5 separate regions of the Homo sapiens genome follow, and regions 1, 2, 3 and 4 are each linked to region 5. Evidence: promoter capture Hi-C in 16 types of primary human blood cells and fetal thymus (Javierre and others, 2016). All regions are on one chromosome and are shown on one strand. The core of a region is centred on a gene start or on the middle of the fragment in contact, and the rest is flanking DNA. Distances in the headings are between cores, read along the strand shown.

What was found. The method cuts DNA at HindIII sites, captures the fragments that hold promoters and counts their contacts. A CHiCAGO score of 5 or more calls a contact.
Region 1: a fragment that was not itself captured here is called in contact with the fragment with the promoter of CDK5R1 in region 5 in 2 of 17 cell types (endothelial precursors and naive CD8 T cells); the score reaches 5.6 in endothelial precursors.
Region 2: a fragment that was not itself captured here is called in contact with the fragment with the promoter of CDK5R1 in region 5 in 5 of 17 cell types (naive CD8 T cells, M0 macrophages, M2 macrophages and 2 more); the score reaches 6.6 in naive CD8 T cells.
Region 3: a fragment that was not itself captured here is called in contact with the fragment with the promoter of CDK5R1 in region 5 in 14 of 17 cell types (M0 macrophages, naive B cells, M1 macrophages and 11 more); the score reaches 10.8 in M0 macrophages.
Region 4: a contact is called between a fragment that was not itself captured here and the fragment with the promoter of CDK5R1 in region 5, in 12 of 17 cell types (total B cells, naive CD8 T cells, naive B cells and 9 more). The highest score is 11.6, in total B cells.

The regions. Positions count from the first base shown.
Region 1 is chr17:32,726,507-32,729,206 of GRCh38, reverse strand. The region is part of intron 14 of MYO1D (myosin ID); the gene reads left to right. Among named protein-coding and RNA genes, the nearest start is that of MYO1D-DT, 150 kb to the left of the region's middle. The HindIII fragment of the contact is 9,933 bases long and covers 1-2,700 here.
Region 2 is chr17:32,697,834-32,700,533 of GRCh38, reverse strand. The region is part of intron 16 of MYO1D (myosin ID); the gene reads left to right. Among named protein-coding and RNA genes, the nearest start is that of MYO1D-DT, 180 kb to the left of the region's middle. RefSeq lists a silencer at 1,004-1,204. The HindIII fragment of the contact is 7,050 bases long and covers 1-2,700 here.
Region 3 is chr17:32,665,736-32,668,435 of GRCh38, reverse strand. All of the region lies in intron 16 of MYO1D (myosin ID), which reads left to right. Among named protein-coding and RNA genes, the nearest start is that of CDK5R1, 180 kb to the right of the region's middle. The HindIII fragment of the contact is 5,410 bases long and covers 1-2,700 here.
Region 4 is chr17:32,628,940-32,631,639 of GRCh38, reverse strand. The region is part of intron 20 of MYO1D (myosin ID); the gene reads left to right. Among named protein-coding and RNA genes, the nearest start is that of CDK5R1, 140 kb to the right of the region's middle. The HindIII fragment of the contact is 3,506 bases long and covers 1-2,700 here.
Region 5 is chr17:32,485,637-32,488,336 of GRCh38, reverse strand. It overlaps CDK5R1 (cyclin dependent kinase 5 regulatory subunit 1), which reads right to left and starts at 1,344. Exons shown (of 2, transcript NM_003885.3): 1 at 1,175-1,344; 2 at 1-861. The coding sequence starts at 716. RefSeq lists enhancers at 258-817, 2,057-2,558 and silencers at 705-994, 1,085-1,344, 1,455-1,984. The HindIII fragment of the contact is 10,728 bases long and covers 1-2,700 here.

The DNA.
Region 1 (2,700 bases), core at 15-2,514, 240 kb before region 5:
GGTGTACTTTCACAAATGGTGTTTTTTTTCCCGTAAAATATATAGGGAGAGACAGGTGAAAAAGTTCAAGAGAATAAGATCACTATTAACTTTTGCAATTTAACCTTTATAAGACACTCTGAATTTGCCAAATTTAGGATTTCTTAGGCTGAGTCAGTCTGGATATTTATAAATGAGAGAGGAGGCAGCATTTATAAATTGAGACAGAATGCTGATTAAATATAGAGAAAGTATTCCCACTATATTCCTTATCCAAAGACTTTTATATCACTAAACAGGATGAAAGGGCTTCCCCCCATTTCTTAGTTGGTTGTTAGTGTCTCATCCAATATTGCCACTTCCTATGCGTAATCACTCAGTACTGGTAATAGTCCATTCAACTATTTTCTGGTTAATAAAGTTGTATTAATACTCTTCATATGATGCCTTATAAGATTGCGTTGCCTACATGATTTTATACATTATTCAGTCCAAAATATTTTCCAAATCACATTGTAATTTCCTTTTTGACCTAAGGTTTAGTTGTTCAGAAGTATTTTTCTTAATTTTCAACATATAGGATTTTCTCATTATCTTTTTGCTCTTGATTTCTAGCTTAGTCTTATTTCATCAAAAGACATACTCTGTGTGGTTTCAATTTTTAGAAATTTGCTAAATTTGCTTTATGTATATGTTTTGTTTGTCTTTAAAAAATAATTTGCAGCCGGGCGCGGTGGCTCATGCCTGTAATCCCAGCACTTTGGGAGTCCAAGGTGGGCAGATCACAAGATCAGGAGTTCAAGACCAGCCTGGCCAACATAGTGAAACCCTGTCTCTACTAAAAGTACAAAAAATTAGCCAGGCATGGTGGTGTGCACCCTGTAATCCCAGCTGTTCGGGAGGCTGAGGCAGGAGAATCACGTGAACCCGGGAGTCCGAGGTTGCAATGAGCTGAGATCACGCCATTGCACTCCAGCCTGGGTGACGGTGTGAGACTGTCTCAAAAAAAAAAAAAAATTGCATTCAATATTCTATACAAGTCCATTAGGTCAAGTTTGCTAATAATATTGTTCAACTTTTCTATTTTCTTCCTGACTTCTTTGTTTTGTAAACATTGAAAGGTGTTTTAAACTCTGCCTTGATTCTGAATTTATCTGCTTGTCCTTATTGTACCTTTGATTTTTTGTGTAAATATTTAGAGAATTTGTTAGGCTCATTCAAGTTAGAACTGTTATATCTTCCTGGTGTTTGAGTCATTTATCATTATGAAACATCTCTATTTCCATATTGCTTTTTGCCTTGAAATCTGCTTTGCATGAATAATATAGCTATGCCAGCTTTTCTTTTGGCTAGAGTTTGCATGGTATATCTTTTTCATCCTTTTACTTTCAATCTTTCTATATCCTTATGTTTCAAGTGTGTCTCTCATAAGTAGCATATAGTTAGCTTTGATTTTTTTAATCCAGTCTGACAATTTTTGTCTTTTGAATAAATCATTTAGTTCATTTACTTTTAATATAGTGTGTGTTGCATTTAAATCAGGCATCTTGTTAATGCTTCTATTTGACTCTTCTGTATTTATTTTCTTTTTTTCTGTATTTCTTTTAGATTGATTATTGTGGGAGAAAGGTAAACAAAACTTTATTCCTTCCCCTTGACAGCTTAACCTCAGTTAAATTTCTAGCTCTGTTCCTCTGGCAACCTAGTAAGACATGTATCACTTAACAACATTACTTATGGTCAGAATTATCCCTGTCAGTAAATTGCATCTGTCTTGGGAGAATGATGTCTGGTGGGTTTTATATACTTTGGGTTTGCCTGAGCTTAGTGACTCCTGTATTAGGTCTGTCCTTTGCTGGACCCTTGAAGCTATGTCTTCTGAGCTGTTCTAAGAGATATTTGGTCCTGTGGGGCATGAGGCTTTTAAGCCAAGTTCACCTCGCACACATGTCCAATGTGGATCTCATCTCCTTACACCTAAGCTGTCACTTGACTGCTGTGTGGACTGCTCCAAGGACACTGACGCTACCTGCTAGCAAACCGTGTTCTTGGCCTTTTGAAGAGATTGGTGCCAAATGTGGCCTATGAGTATTCTGAGTCAAAATGTTTAGTTAGACCTAAGATCATACTCTTTCCCCTCCACTGGTGTTGCAAGTATTTTTTATCATTTTATTTATTCTCTTTATTATTTTGGAAGATTTACTTAAATACTGTTATAGTGGTTACTTGACTTATTGCAATATCATTCTTGAATATAAAAATCTAATGTTATTTGGTACTTTTGCCTCCTTCCTAGGAAATACAAGGCCAATTTAATTCCATTTACCTTCCTCCTAACTTGTATGCTATTTTGGTCATGTATTTTAATTATATACCAAAATAACATGCATGTATTTTAATTATATACCAAAATATATTTGGTCATGTATTTTAATTATATACCAAAATAACATGCATATACATTTTTAAAGCCAGTAAGACATTATTATATCTATTTAGATATAAATATATTTATTATATTAGATATAGATGTTATATCTATATTATCTGTATCTATATTACCTATAGCTATTTATACCTATATGATCTATATTATCTAATATCTATATCTATTATATCTGTTATAGCTATTAGATGATATAGATATAATATATATCTATTTAGATTGTAATTTACATCTATTATATCTATTTATTCACTTGTTTATCTTTTTTCTCTTCC
Region 2 (2,700 bases), core at 8-2,507, 210 kb before region 5:
TTCTTTCACATTTATTAGTAATGAACTGTGAAATTTTTTGTGGATCTGCTTCTGCTGTATCTGTAGCAGGGGTCCCCAACCCTTGTGCCACGGACTGGTACTGGTCCGTGGCCTGTTAGGAACTGGGCCCCACAGCAGGAGATGAGCAGAGGGCAAGCAAGCTCCGCGGCCTATCAGATCAGCAGCGGCATTGGATTCTCATAGGAGCAGGAACCCTGTTGTGTGTGAAATGCCCATGCAGGGGATCTAGGTTGTACACTCCTTATGAGAATCTAATGCCTGATGATCTGATGGAACAGTTTCATCCCGAAACCATCCCCTACCACCTCCCAGTCCATAGAAAAACTGTCTTCCATGAAATTGGTCCTTGGTGCCAAAAAGTTGGAGACTGCTGATCTGTAGGACCTGATATATTATTATTTAATTATTTTTTATGTTTACATTTTCTCTTTCCCTGAAAGTTGTTTAAAAAAATTTTTTTAAATCATTTCCAGGTGATACATGTTTTGTGTGTGTATTTTCTTTACTTTTCTAATTTTGTTCTTAATTTTTTAGTTTCACTGCTTTATGATCACAGAATGTTAAATGTTCCATTTCTACTTTCTGGAATTTATTGAGGTTTACTTTAGGGCCTGGTGTACAGTGATTTTTTGTGAGTATAATGTGAAATAAGGTATATGTTATTTTTTAATATTTTTATTATGGAAAATTGCAAATATTCACAAAAATAGGAAGAACAGTTTAATGAATCTCCATGTTTCCATCACCCAGATTCAACAATTAACAATATTTTGTCATTCTTATTTTATCTAATTCCCACCTCATGCTTTTATGTATGTTTGTTTTGGTTTGGTTGAAGTTTTTAAAGAACATCCCAGATATCTTTTGTCACCCTTAAATACCAATCTACAGATAAGGACTTTATAGATAAGGACTTCATACTGTTATCATACCATATAAAATTAATAATTAATAGTTTCTGTTCATTGTTCCCAGTTGACTGGAAACTATCTTTTCACAGATGGTTAGGGATAGGCGTGGCCACCCCCAGAGCTGAGACAGCATTGAGAAAGGAGCACACTCATCTTTATCAAAGGGCAGCATCAACACCTAAGGCAGTGAGTGGTTCCTGGCAGTCTGACAGTTATCTCTGTCATTTGGGAGTTTTGTTCCCATATATTTCAGAAACTTGATATGTAATATTAATTATGATTTTCAGTGACATATCATTTCATCTTTAAAAATTGAATGTTTTAAAGGTGGCTTATGGGCTGGGCACGGTGGATCATGCCTGTAATCCCAGTGCTTATTTGGAGACTGAGGCAGGGGGATCACGAGGTCGGGAGTTCGAGACCAGCCTGGCCAACATGGTGAAACCCCATCTCTACTAAAAATACAAAAATTAGCCGGGCGTGATGACACAAACCTGTAATCCCAGCTATTCAGGCTGAGGCAGGAGAATTGCTTGAACCCCGGAGGCAGAGGTTGCAGTGAGCCAAGATGGTACCACTGCACTCCAACCTGGGCGACAGAGCAAGACTTGTCTTGAAAAAAATTAAAATTAAAATAAAATAAATGTGGCTTATGTATGGCAAGGAGTGGCGTCTTTAGTTTGTCTAAATTAACAATTTCATATTATTTATATGTTCTTATATTTATTTGTTAAATTTGCATTTTGCATTTTTTATTATTGGATTATATTATGGCTTTAGCTCCCTTATCACAAGAAAGATCTTGTGAAGGATTAAAAGTGGCTCATTAAAGCATAAACATATAATGAAAATAGTAAATTCTGAAACTGAGAATAATATAATAACTGTTAATTATAAGTAGACTCAAAGATTAATATAGTGTAATCATTTTCAGTGAGTACGATAATTTTGTAAACCAGCCAAAAGAAAAAGTATGAATAGAATCATTATCTGAAAATTGGATTTTATTGGTTTTGTCATTCATTTGCCTAATGTTTTATTTGTTAGGAAACTGTCAGATAGAGACATGAAGTGATGGGGGCTTTCATATGATTTCTAAACAAAGCACTCTGACTTCTTTGTAAAACCAATCAAGTGTTTTATTTCTAAGACTAAAAGCAAAATAATTATTTCTCATATAAAATTGATTACTTTTGTCCTTAAAAAAGAAAAGAAGGAAGGAGGGAAGGGGGAGGGGGAGGGGGGAAGAGAGGGAGGGAGGAAGGAAGGAAAGAAGGAAGGAAGGAGGGAAGGGGGAGGGAGAGGGGGGAAGGGAGGGAGGAAGGAAGGAAGAAGGAAGGAAGGAAAAAGAAAAGAGAAAAGAAAGAAAACACAAAACCTACTGATATGGTAGCTAGTATTTCCTGAGTGATAGGCACTACTCTGGATACTTTACTATTCTGGTTATTTAACTAAGTCATTACAAGAACCTTGTGAATGAGTGTCCATTATTATTTCCATTTAATAGATAAGGGAGCTAAAGCCACTGAGTGGTTAAGGACCTTGGCAGAGGTCACACACGGTAAACACCAGAGCTGGGATTTGAACCTAAGAGGCCTGCTTCCCACACACACTCTTTTGACTGCTGTACACTTTTGTACCATAGTGGCATCATTCAAGAAACAGCTATGACTCACACTATTGAAAAGTTTGAAAAACTAGTCACAAAGGTGATGTGTTCAGAGGATGTCCTCAAAGGTGATGTGCATCATGCTCACAAAGAAAGCAG
Region 3 (2,700 bases), core at 107-2,606, 180 kb before region 5:
TGTATACTGTGTTATTATTTTGATGGAGTACTGTGTGTTTTGAATGCTGGGCATTTGTCACACAAGGTCAAAGCCTGACCTGTACTCTTTACCAGGTGGTAAGCCACCTCGCTATCAGACAGAGGTAGACTTGGAGATGGTAGAGGCTGTAGGAGTCTCCTGAAAAAGCTGAAATATTGCCAGACACCACTTTGGATCTGCTCAGATGCTCAAACTCTTGACCAAAACTCTGTAGTTCTACATCAAAATGCAGTTTAGATAGTCTTGAGAGATTTTCAAGATGAATTACCAAGTTTTTACCTCCTCTTTTAAGAAAACAAAACCAAACAAAAGAAAGCAGTCACTTTCCTACAGCTCCACAGAGTGTTTACAAGATTGAATCCTGGAAAATCTGTCAGAGTTACTTAACCTATTATCTGGAGTAATTTTATTTTCATTTGTCTGCAAAATAATTGCGATTTGGGTTTCAATAGTGTTGATATTGGGCTGTTCTTCTGATAGTAATTGACCAAAAGGTTCAATTACTTCTTGAAGTTACAGTTATAAGGAGGCTGTCAGATCATGTCATCATCATAGTGAAGAAATCATTAATAGGCAGCAATTGTGTGCACTAAAGAATTGCAAGGTTAATGAATCTGGACAAGGCCATATATATAAAATGGGCATGTCCTAAACGAAGGTTCATGGGTCAATTAACTCGGCAAGTTAGTCTCCCAGACCAAGGTAAGACAGCTCAGGGGTGGTCACTTCTAAATTATGTTCCACCAAGCACATACCAATACCACCACCTGCAATAGTTAAGTTCATCAGGACGGCTTGTAATGATCAGACTCACATGTACTTTTTGTGTGTGTGTGGCTCTTCATTTTAATGATTTTTACATTTGTTTATTGACTAAAGATTTGGTTCTTTTGTGTCTTAGATTTATCGTATGTCTTCCAAAATATTATTAATTTATCTGTAAAACGAAGGAATTTTGTGTCAGGAATTAAGCTAATAGCCTATAAATTATATTCACTGGATTATATTTTCTTCTTGTTACATATTAACCTGCTAGTCCGGTAAAAACATGAGCACCAGCATTTTAAAAATAGCATATCAAGTCTTTATTCATTTTGTCCCTTATAGAAATGGAAGAGGAATAATTCAGAAAGATTTTTCTGTCTCTGAGTCTTCCTTTAAAATAGCTCTTAGAGCCACACCCTTCATCAGTCAATCATGAAATATCCTAAATTGAATGTGACTGTCATATTCTAAATTTGATGGAATGTGTCCATACCAAATTTTGTATATTTATAATTTGCTCAGAGTTCATTCAACGAGAGTTCATTATTTACATAAATAAACCCTCCTCTACCACAACTTTTTAACAACCGTAAGGTGTCAGAACTCTGCCCAAATAACCATATGGGTTATGTAGACTTATCTCAATGTGGACTCTCAAAGTTCCCCATTATGTAGACTCATCTCAATATGGACATCTCGAAGATCCCCATAGGGGGAACTTAAAGATAGAAATGGAAGAAAGATGCTTCTAAAAATTGTCCTTAGGCATGGAGGACCTGAGAAGCTAGGAGCTGAAATGTTGAACAATTCTGTTTGTGGAAACCAAGAGAATGTCTAATTCAGAGTACCAGGGAGCTGTGAAGTAGTGATTTATATTGACAACAAGACAGAAAGAGCCCCCAATGCCCATAATGACTAGAATTTTGAAAAACAAAACAAAACAAAACATGGGGAACTAGGAGAAAAAAAGGAAAGCTGACCTGTGTTTGATTCTGAGACGAAACGGAAGATACATAATTGCCCTACTTCTTAATAGAGTGCAACCTAGAATCCTACTTTTTTTTGCAAAGTTTAATGACTGTTAGATGTTGCTTTGAAACGTCTGACTGCTGAAGAAGTATGCAGCAGAAGAAAAAATGGTAGAATTAAGATGGCATTATGAAACATCTGGTTAAACATGACAGTTGTGTTTATATCCACTCTCTTAACATCTCGAAAAGAGCAGAAAAGGAATAAAAATTGGATAAACCTACGAGGACAAATAGTACCATAGTGGAAACAACAGAAGACAAGAGGTGTCAGCATAAGTTTAGAAGTAAGTAAATGAGTCGTTACTCCCAGGCAAGTGCCTGCAGAGAACAAGGCAAACAGGCAAGACAGTTTGCCTTGTTCTGACTGTAGGGCTGTAGAAAGATTCTAGACTGGGAAGGACTGGGTGCCTCTGTAGGTAGGGATGAGGGGTGGCCCTGACAGAGGAGGTTGGTTAAAATCTATATAAAGAGGAATTAGACACTAGGTCTCTCCCCAGACCACACAAAGCTAAGGGACTACCTCAGCCTCATTCTGATAGATGGCAAGAAGTTTCTTGTCTGAGTAAATTGAACAGGATTTAGAGAAGTTCTGAACTTAGGGACACCAGGCTTAGTGGAGGAGAGGGGTCAGGTACCATATTGAGACCAAGGATATTAAATGAAAGTATAGACACTGAGGAGTAAGATTCCCCCCACCACCCACCCCAGACCCCTTCACTCTGAGGATTCTGGCAGGAAAGAGAAAACACTTCATGATCCTGACATTCTGGGGTTCCCCACAGATGGCTACTCCCAACCTAATCACCCTGTAGTGAAGTTCCCCATCCATGAAGCACTTATACAGAGCTTCTAAGGGCTGTTCACCCTTCAGTGAGAGTGGAGG
Region 4 (2,700 bases), core at 69-2,568, 140 kb before region 5:
GTTCTCGCTCTGTTGCCCAGGCTGGAGTGCAGTTGTGCAATCATAACTCACTGCAGCCTTAAACTCCTGGGATCAAGCATTCCTGTCTCCTCAGCCTTCCAAGTAGCTAGGACTGCAGATGCACGCCACTACTCTTGGCTAAACTTTGAAAATTTTTTTTGTAGAGACAGGGTCTCACGTTGCCCAAGCTGGTCTGGAACTCCTGGCCTCAGCCAATCCTCCTGCCTCAGCCTCAAATCCCAAAGTGCTGGAATTACAGGCATGAGCCACACCACACCTAGCCAAAGACTGCCTTTTAAACCTGTTTTTTTAATAACAGAATTCTGTGTAGGTTCACATTTACATATGTAGAAGTAAAATTATTCCATCATATGGCACTTGGTAGTTACATCTCTGGTCTGTTTTAGTCCACACTGCACTTCCACTCACATATACCCCTACCCTGTTTTTTTCCCATCATATTGACTTTTTAAAATAGCTTTCTTGAGGTATAATTCACTGTTACAGACTGAATTGTGTTCCCCCAAAATTTATATATCAGAGTCCAAACCCCCAGTACCTCAGAAAGTGACTGTATTTGGAGATGGGGTCTTTAAAGTAGTAATTAAGTTAAAGTGGGATCTTAAGAGTGGGCCCTAATCCAGTATGACTGGTGTCCACATGAGAGGAGATTACAACATAGGTACAGAGGGAAGGCCATGTGAAGACAGAGAGAAGACAGCCATCTACAAGGCAAGGAGAGAAGCCGTCAGAAGAACAACTCTACCGGCAGGGCGTGGTGGCTCATGCCTGTAATCCCAGCACTTTGAGAGGCTGAGGCGGGTGGATCACGAGGTCAGGAGATTGAGACCATCCTGGCTAACAAGGTGAAACCCCATCTTTACTAAAAATACAAAAAAAATAGCCAGATGTGGCGGCAGGCACCTATAGTCCCAGCTAATCGGGAGGCTGAAGCAGGAGGATGATGTGAACCCAGGAGGCGGAGCTTGCGGTGAGCCGAGATCACACCACTGCACTCCAGCCTGGGCAACAGAGCGAGACTCCATTTCAAAAAAAAAAAGGAGGAACAACTCTACCAACATCTTAATTTTAAACTTCCAGCCTCCAGAACTTCAAGGAAATACATTTCTGCTGTTTAAGCCACCTAGTCTGTGATACTTTATCATGGCAGCCCTAGCAAACTAATATATTTACATACCATAAAATTTGCCCATTGTAAGTTATAGTTATTTTTAGTAATTTATGCAGTTGTGCAATCATCACATAATCCTGTGTTAGAATATTACTAGGCTGGACGTCTGTAATCCCAGCACTTTGGGAGGCCAAGATGGGAAGATTGCTTGAGCCCAGGAGTTTGAGACCAGCCTGGGTAAAATAGTGAGACACTGTCTCTACAAAAGAAAGAAACAGATCTGAATACTAGATGTGCTTGTTGCTACCGGGGATTCATTTCTTTTAGGTCCTCTCAGCTGGCACAGGACAGAAATATATGTGTATAATCTGTGTATATACACATCTTTATAAATATTTTTATATGTGACCATCTTTATATGAAGTTAAACATGAGTTTATACTAGTGTCTCTCACTCTAGTCCATGACCACATGAGTCATTCTAGCCTTCCCCCATCGCTTATCTTTAAATTCCCTGTCCAAAAGTGAGAAACCTGGCTTGCACCATCCACTGTCCATTTACCTAATTGTTCATTTCCAGTATCCATGCATAGCAGTATCAGAATTGTTAACCTGTACTCCTGTGAGGCACGACTTTATCAAATAGAGTACAGTGCTACATGCACTTCCTTTTCCCTTTAGTCTTACACACTCCACTCATTTCCAAAGTTACCTAGGTCAGCACCTTTTCTTTCCGCCCTCTTCAGTGAGATTGATACCTTTTTTTTTTTTTTTCTTGAGATGAAATCTCGCTTTGTCACCCAGGCTGGAGTGTAGTGGCGCAATTTTGGCTCAGTGCAACCTCCGCCTCCCGGATTCAAGCAATTCTCTGCCTCAGCCGAGTAGCTGGAATTACAGGCGCCCGCCACCACGCCTGGCTAATTTTTTTTGTATTTTTAGTAGAGACGAGGTTTCACCATCTTGGCCAGGCTGGTCTTAAACTCCTGACCTCATGACCCACCTGCCTTGGCCTCCCAAAGTGCTGGGATTACAGGCGTGAGTCACTGTGCCTGGCCCATACTTTTTAATATAAGTGGATTCTCTTGTCACATTTTGCATTCCTTCCTGAAACCCCCCAACCTCCTAATTTTTTTTAAGTTGCCCACAAAGGTTCACTCTTGATGCTGTTGAGTTCTGTAGGTTTTGGCAAATGTATAGTGTCATGTATCCACCATTACAGTATCACACAGAACAGTTTCACTGCTCTAAAGATCCTGTGTGCGTAACCTGTTCATTCCTTTCCCTCTTTCCCCTGAACCTACGGGAACCACTATCATTTTACTGTCTCTACAGTTGTGCCTTTTCTAGAATGTCATATAATTAGAATCATACAGAATGTAGCCTTTTCAGATTGTCTTCTTTCACTTAGCAGTAGGCCTTTAAGGTTCCGTCATGTCTTCCCATGGCTTGTTGGCACATTTTGTTTTTTTAGTCAAGAAATAGTTCATTATATGGAGGTGCCGTAATTTGTTTCTCCATTCACCTATTGATTGCTTCCACTTTTTGGCAACTATGAATAAAGCTACTAA
Region 5 (2,700 bases), core at 95-2,594:
TTGCCCATGTAGGAGTAGGAGAGGTACAGGCATGTCAGCAGGACGGCCTGGAGCTCGTGATCCGAGCCCACCTCGGAGGAGATAACATCCCTGCAGAGCATGTAGAGGAAGACCACGTTGGCCGGCGTGATGAAGCCCTGGTCCTGCCAGCCCTGCAGAAGCAGCGAGCGGTCCACGCTGCGCAGCCAGAGCACGGGGTCCGTGGGGGACAGGTGCTTCAGGCGGTAGCACCGGCGGCAGAGAAACTCACCCAGGCAGCGAAGCAGCTCACTGGTGGACGCCTGGACGATGACCCGTTTGGGCGTCCCTGCGGAGGTGACGGCAGGGTGAGGGGCTTTCTTGACTGAGGAGGAGCCCCCGGTCTGGGAACCCGAGAGCTGGCTGGCCGGGGGTGCAGGCGGCTGGGCCGGTGGGGGCTGGGCGAATGTGGACAGGTTGGCGCACGACAGCGACTTCTTCAGGTTCTCATTGTTGAGGTGCGTGATGTTGTTCTGGTAGCTGCTGTTGGGCTGCACCTTCTTGGAGTTCTTCTTCTTGGCCGACACGGCCACGATTCTCTTCCAAGGCAGCACGGAGATGATGGAGTGGCGCTTCAGGTTCTTGTCCTTGGCGTTCTTGCTGTTCTGTACGGCCGTATAGTGGCCCACGGTGGCCGCGCCATCCTCAAACAGCGTGGCCTTCCGGTAGCTGGGAGACAGGGACAGCACCGTGCCCATGGTGCTGCTGCGCGCCGGGCGGGGGCTCGCGCCCCTGCGCGCCCAGCCTGCCGGCCGGAGGGATAAAACCGCTCACCGAGCCTGCGGCGGCCCCGGAGAGGAGGCGGGGGCGCTCCCGGGAAGCGTGCTGCCCCCTTGGATCTGCCTGGAAAACAAGATGGTTCTTAGCGCCAGGCTGGGCTCCGCGCCGCGCCCCTGCGCCCCTGCGCCCCTCCGCCCCGCGCCTCGGCGCACCCCGCCGCCCCAGTCCCGGGCCCTACCCGCGCCCCCGCGACGCAGCCTCGCCGCCTCCACTGCAGCACCCCCGCCCGCCGCCGCCGCTGCGGTCCCCAGGCGCAGCCGGGAGGGGCCCGGTCGCCGACGGAGGCGGCCGAGGACCCCCGCCTGGACACCCCGCACGGGCGCGACCCCGGTCTCCGCTCCCCAGGGCCAAGGACGGCCGCCCAGCGCAGGCTTACCCGGCAGGCGGCAGCTCCTGCGCTCCGCGCCCTCCGCAATGCGCGCCGCGGCCCCGCCGCCGCGGTCCCGGCGCTCGGCGGCGCTCGGGGGCGCTCGGCGGGGATCGGCTGGGCTCGCGCTCGGCGGCGGCGACGGCGGCGGCGGCGGCGGCGGCAGCTAGGGAGCTTCTGTCCAAGGTTCTGCAGGCACCGCAGCCCCGCCCCCCGCTCGGCCGCCCGCACCTTCGCCGCCGCCGCCGCGCTCCCGCTCCCGCTCCCGCTTCCGGCGCGCGCCTCAGCGCCCTCCCTCGCGGGGCGCGCGCGCCGTCCACGCTCCGGCCTGGTCTCGCCGGGGAGTCGCGGCCGTTGGTGTCCTCAGCTCGAGCCGCGCACGGTGCGGGTAGGACGCGGCAACGAGCGGGAGGCACCTCTACGCGCCGGGCCCCATCTAGGAGCCGGACTCCGCGGCTGCGGCGGGACACGCGGCGTCGGCCCGCCCCGCCCCTCGGGGCCGCCCCTCCCGCACAGCTCGCCGCCCGCTCCGCGCCGCCGCCCAACAGCAGCCCGGCCGCCGGAGAGTCCTCGGCGCCCGCGCAACCCAACTCTGCCGACGCGGGGCGGGCGCCGAGCAGGGCGGAGCCGAGGGCCGACCCCGCCCGCGTCCCGCCCAGACACGTGCTGCCTTTGTTCCCGCCGCGGCGCCCGCAGCTGCCGGCCGCGGGGGCACTCTCGGCCGAGTCCCTGCCCTGGCAGCGCGCGGCCCGCCCTCTCTGAGGCTGCCGCCCTGGCCTGGTGAGGAGCCCTCCGCCGAGGCCAGGGTCCGGAGCTCCCTCCTTCCACCTGACATCCCCGTCCCTGTGGAAAGCAGCCAGGGAGCGCGGGGAAGAAGGCCCTGGGCGGGGAGAGGCGACGCCTTTACTGAGGCCTCCCGAGTGCCACGCGCACCTCGAGTGGACAGTCCAATCGGTTCTGGCCACCCCTCCGGGGCCTCCGTTCCCTCATCATGGGTAGATGACCGCGGCCGAAGTGGGCCTCAGAGATCCAAGCCAGAGAAGCGTGGCCCGTAGCCAAGCCTGAGCCCGTCACAAATATGACCTCTAAGTTCCCACTCGCCCTCTTATTTGTCATATTAAAGCTGAAGCAACTGCCCCTCCGGCCAGCTTTCTGACCCTCTTAAACGTTTTCAATTCTAAGTATGTATAATTTGAGAACTTGATGCTAGCGAAATTGAGTAAAATTCTGTTTCTGAAAGCTGTTCCTGTCAGATGTGAATCCAGATCCTTCACAAAGGCTGTTGTTCATTTACTATTTTACCTTGTTTCTGGAGATCGAGTCAAAACTGACCACAAACCTGGGAAACAGGAAACTTAAGCCCTGTCTTAATCCAGATTATCTCTGGACCTAGAGATGAGGGAGTGGCTCTCCAGAGGAGAGGATGCCACCCAGTTACCTGACCACTCCAGCCGACTAGGCTTTCACCAGCCCTGTCAACTGTCCTAGGGGGAACAGAAAGGGAATCTGGCATCATTCAAAATGGTGCAATCAAG